Linked DNA regions of Homo sapiens: region 2 is linked to region 1. Evidence: promoter capture Hi-C in 16 types of primary human blood cells and fetal thymus (Javierre and others, 2016). All regions are on one chromosome and are shown on one strand. Each heading gives the region's core, a stretch centred on a gene start or on the middle of the fragment in contact. The rest is flanking DNA. Distances are from core to core; before and after follow the strand shown.

Region 1 (2,700 bases), core at 29-2,528:
GCAGCAACTCCTGACCCCTACAAAAAGTTTTAAATCAATAACTTAGTTTAAAATCCTTACTAAGTGGGATCATTACTAATCTCACTTCATTGTACCTTCAGTATCTGGAAACCGTCCCTATGGTCACACTTACCACGGCTCATTATTATTTTAAAACATGGGGCTGTGTCATTTCCTGTCTGTGAGTTTGGACTGCAGTGGGAATCCATTAGTTGAATGACCTTCTGTGTAGGTTAATCACAAGACAAGTTCTCAAACTAAGGGTTTCCCTGCGGCTCATTTCTTTTTAAAGTTATGGAATACCTGTTCTGCTTATACCTTTTAGATTCATAATTATTTTTCTTGTATCAAAATTTCAATTAATAGAAATAAATGACGTTACTGACACTTCATGATGATTAAGTTTTGGGCAAGTGAACCATTTTACACTCTATTTTTTATTCCTCCCACTTTTAGTCAGAATACACCTGCAGAATAAGTAACAGAACTGTGTGAAAAGAACGACTAGGTCATTACGGTTAATAGTTTTAGAAAAACAGCCGAGGCCTGGTCTGGAAAGCTCACAACCTCCACCCAGATGCTTTCCAGCCTCGGGGATATTCGTACTAGCAGTGACACTAGCCAGCTTCCTCTAGGCTGGCTCTGATGTTGGAAGACAAGCACGCAGATGTGTGTTACTTTTCAAGCCTGGACATCGTTTCTGAGGAATTTAACTCCACCTCTCCTGCCAGAATGGAAAATCAACGCCCCCCATTCCCGCCCTTCACCAACCCCTCTCCGCCTGCCCCTTTCCCTTGGGTCCTCTCTGTTACAGAAGTTCTGATTTTTCCTAGCGAGCTGGAGGAAAGGCAGGTACCCGGAGTGGAGTTATATTACCTGTTTCTTTGTTCTGATGGGACCCCAGAGAGGACATCACGCTTTGTAACTGGTTCTTCAAGGGGAGAAGCAAATGTGTCCCTGAAAACTTCAGCTGCCGCGTTTGGCACCAGGTTTGATTGACAAGGACTGGCGGAGGGAAAGCGCGGAGGCTGGGCTGGGGGCCGCAGGCCGAGGCAGAGACAAAGAGGTTTCGCCTGTCCCCGAGAGTGGAAGGGCCCCTGGGGGTAACTAGCCTTTGAGCTCAAAGGGGCATTTCGTGAGGTCGCCTTTTGGTTCGGAGAGCGCGCGGCGATCGGGTGGAGGGGGCCTGGCGGGAAGAAAGCTGGGGCGGGGAAGGGGCGCGGGCCGAGGTGGGAGCGGAGCTGCAGTCACGTGGCCGCCCGCCGCCGCGGAGTTGGGGCTGTTCTTCCGGGTTGGAGGCGCAGCGCCGCGGGGCCCAAGCCCGGGTCTGCCAGCGCGACGTCCTCTCGCGGCCCTCAGGGCACAGCCCAAGGCTGTCAGCCTCCCGGCCCAGGTGAGCGCGACGGCACTGGCGGGTGCGGGCAGCCGGGGCGCGCGCCTAGGGCGCAGCTGGGAAAGGGGCTCGGGCCTTTCCTGAAGACCACGGCCCTCGCCGGGAGAGAGACCTGTCAAAGAGCAAAGCGGGGCGGGGTCGGCGGTGTCCCGGGCGCAGGGTGCATTGGGGTGTCCGCAGGCCGCAGGCTTAGGTGGGGAAGAAGCACCGTGCCTCTTGGTGTCCCTTTCTCGTCTCCTGCTGGGGCGATGTCGAAGGGAGTGGGCTGGTGGATTTGGGAACTGGGTCCCCGAAGAGGGCAGGGAATGAGGCGGCAGCTGTGCAGGTGCAGATATTTGCAGCTTTGGGGGACAGCGAGAGTCGTACGGGGTCATTTCGGCCCTCAAGATCGGGGGTGGTGGAGAGGGAGGTCATAGAGGACTTTCGATGGGCGGTTCATCCAGAGAGGTGGCAGCTGGATGCCCTTGAGGTATGCTTGACCCTTGAGGGAGTTCGGAGAGGGTGTCCGGCTGGGGACATAGGAGATTGCGAGCACAAATTGTGAGTGTGAGTTGGGGCGGTCTGGCGGTGGTGGGTACAAGTTTCTGGGGCCTAGGCTGGTGAGGAGGAAGAGACAGCGGAGAGGGCGACCTGGGCAGAGCTAGTTCAAACTCAACAGCCGGAATGACTATTTGCAGCCGTGGCCAATCGGCTTCCTAGGGAGGTTATAAATAGCGGTCTCGTGCAGATGCCAGCGGGTGGCAGTTAGTTGCCGAGCAAGGGACGGCACCGGTGGCAGTAGCCGTGACACCAGTGGCTTTGGGTGAGGTCACGGCGCCTGCCAGCCGAAGCTGGCTCAGTAGGGTATTGTGTCCTTGCTGGTATGTCTCGCTTTTAAAAGCGTGACTTGTTTATGGTTGCCGGTGTCCTTTATTCACCCTGTGGCGCCGGCCAGTCCTTAGGTGGTCTGTTTGTCAGGAGTCTTGTAGGACAGACTTATTCGGAGAAGCGCGTGGGGCTTAGGTGCCTACCTACTCTTCTTATTTAAAGTGTGCCCCTTTTCTTCATTGCACCCCTTTTATTTGTAAACCTTGACTTTTTATTAACAGACAGTTTAGGATTGCCTTCTTTCCAGCAGGTGCGCTTAGGCTGCTTACCTTGGTGATAGAATCAGTTTTCCACAAGGCTACACAAACATTTCCTTTTCAAAGGAAATTTTCCGAAAATCCTTGGAAAATGTGCTCAATAGGTACTTAGGCTTAAGGTCACCTAGCCCTATTCATTCAGTCAAAAATACTGACTTCCTCTGTGTTGTGCAAAGCACTGGG
Region 2 (2,700 bases), core at 16-2,515, 1.8 Mb before region 1:
TTGTCTCTGGGAATATACGTTGATGGCAGAATTTCTTTGGTAAAAGGAAGTAAGTCACAGCTATGTTTTACTAGCTCTTTTGAGCCACCAATATTTCTTTTGCTCAGATTGAAGAATGAGTACAGGAATAGGAGCATCCTTGAGAAAGGAGCCCTCGTGAACTTTCACAAGTTGCTGGGTTAGATCCCACCAGACATCCAGGCATCAAAAGCTCCAAGGGCAGAATGGTCAGAGGCAAAGGAGTCCCAAGTCCCCCACTTGAATAACCTAGACAGACTTCTGTTCCAGCTGTCCCACTAAATATGAAGTTAATCCTAAGGTCACTTGACCATTGGTGATGCAAGCTTTCATTTCACACCCGAACTCATTAACCACCAGCATAAAGTCAGTGCCCAGAATAGCCCTTGTGCAGCCTTCAAATACCAGAGCCAGGCACTGCAGCGCAGAATAAACATGGGAATATTTTCAATAATTCCTTTCTGTTTGGTAGTATACAATTTTGTTAATCTTTTTTAAAAAGCAACTAAACGTGTAAATATTACACAAACGTGTCAAATAAGGTAAAGATGATGTAAAATTACTCCTGTTATTGCCAAAATTAGTTGTACTTTAAAAAACTGGCTAAATTAAAGAAATCAAAGAGCATTAATATCACATAAGTCCTTCAGAAATAAAAAGTGATATGAGAGTATCACTGAGAACTTAACTGTAATTGCACCAAAGCTGCATTTGCTAAAGATTTAAAAATTGTTAATCGAAAGCAGCAAATGATAAATAAGCAAAAACAATGATTTCTGTAATCTGATAGGTAAAGTCTTCAAGATCAGTTTGGAAAACTCTTAAGTGTACACTCAAAGGTTTCATATTCCTCAAAAAACAACTATATAAATCTATAAATCCAAGATATAAATACTTAGTATGCTTAGAATAACCAAAAGATTTTAAAATCTATAAAGTCTGTGGCTGAGAGGATTGAAAATTCAGTATTATAAAGGTTAATCAATTTTTCAGATAGAACCTTTGTAAGCATTTCCTAGAAGACACCAAAAGGACTGAAGGACTGACCCCAATGATTATTAGCAGTATCTTTCCAGAGTATCAAATTAGCTTTGACATTTTAAGACAATACATGTAAATTACAATATCAATTAAATAAAATTGTATGATGTCACATTTTCTAAGCATGTAACTGGTCTTGGCAACTAAAATACACAAGGAGAAAAACAACTGCATGTGCCTATATAAAAGGGCATATAGATCCAAATATTTAACAAGCAGTGCAACATAGATATCGACCAGTCTAAACAGACTCCCACAAGTGGACATACCAGCAGCCCTGCACACACCTATATATGTGCAATACACATGGGCATGTATGATTTTGGGCCATTACGAAAATACATTTTTAAATTCCAAATTCACTCTGATGTCCATTTTTAGAGTTGCTGATATGCACGAGTGTTTTTAAAACTATCACAATACCTGAAAATCACGTTTCCTGCTCGGTCCGCCTTCCAGGCTTTCACCAAAGCAAAATCCCCTGTAATTGCTTCCTCCAAAATAAAGTGCTGACCATTGAACTCCCTCACCTGCAGAAGAGGGAGAAGGCATCATCAGGTATTTGCATAGGTCTTGATTGTGATAGAGGCACTCTGATAGAGGTAGATAATAAGGATACAAGCCTACTGAGGGAAAATTTCTCAGAGGGAAAAGCATCCCAGAGACTTCAAAGATAAGCAGTGTTAGGCAAGCAGGACTTAGTCAAAGTGGTCTAAGGGGAGCTAAGGAAACAGACAAGCAAAGGTCCAGTGACAAAAGAAAATTTGTGCATTTGAGGAACTGAAAGTTCTATGGCCTGAGGGATAGACTATTTTCATTTTACTATTTGTATGTACAGGTTGTATATTGAATGTGAAAAATAGTCCTTCTTTCCCTCTCCCCTGAAAAAACAGTTTGCATAAAATGGTCTATGTATTGTTTTCCTACATAAAATAGTTACAAAAATCTATCATTCAGCTATCCTCAATAACCTATATCACCTGTTGAGATTTTAAATGGGATTCACAGAATCAGTAAATTTGGAGAAAACCAACAAGCCCTATCTTCCCACCCATGAGCATAGTATATGTCTCCATTTACTGAGGTTTTCTTCGACCTCCTTCAATAGTTTTATTATTTTCTCCATAAAAGCTTTATTTTTTTTCTTAGGTTTATTTATAGGTACTTAGTGGTTTCTCTTGCTACTGTGAATGTTACATTTGCTCCTATCTACTCTTCTGACATTACTGATCTAGGGAATGCTATTGATTTTTATTTATGTTTATTGCCTTTTAATTATACTACCAATTTTGGAGGGAAGAACATAAAGCAAAACTGTCTTGCCATCATGTTCTTTTATTCTTGACGGTTTATTTCCGGGAATTAAAACAAGCATCCATTGCCACACTCCATCACTGCACAAAATGGAGCCATGTGAATGTAGAACTCCATTCTCATCCCTACCGCACCCCCTAGTGGAAAAACAGACTAAGTGCGTTTTACAAAAAGCTGCTATAGAAAATAGAAAATTTTGGTACATTTATTTCAACTATGGTTTGAAACAAAACCTTTCTTAAATAAAGGCTACTTTAAAGACATTAACCAAGTTGCCTGCTAGAAAAAAGATTAATGCACTTAGGGAATAACTGATGAATGAGGATC

The links. Contacts are between HindIII fragments. The CHiCAGO score rates a contact against its expected background, and 5 or more counts as called.
Region 2: a fragment that was not itself captured here is called in contact with the fragment with the promoter of NNT in region 1 in 1 of 17 cell types (non-activated CD4 T cells); the score reaches 6.3 in non-activated CD4 T cells.

The regions. Positions count from the first base shown.
Region 1 is chr5:43,601,902-43,604,601 of GRCh38, forward strand. NNT (nicotinamide nucleotide transhydrogenase) reads left to right here and starts at 1,279. Exons shown (of 22, transcript NM_182977.3): 1 at 1,279-1,393. NNT-AS1 (NNT antisense RNA 1) reads right to left here and starts at 1,329. Exons shown (of 3, transcript NR_073113.1): 1 at 877-1,329. RefSeq lists silencers at 627-846, 1,110-1,199, 1,320-1,539. The HindIII fragment of the contact is 7,409 bases long and covers 1-2,700 here.
Region 2 is chr5:41,841,193-41,843,892 of GRCh38, forward strand. It overlaps OXCT1 (3-oxoacid CoA-transferase 1), which reads right to left. Exons shown (of 17, transcript NM_000436.4): 6 at 1,483-1,589. Among named protein-coding and RNA genes, the nearest start is that of OXCT1-AS1, 27 kb to the right of the region's middle. The HindIII fragment of the contact is 1,846 bases long and covers 343-2,188 here.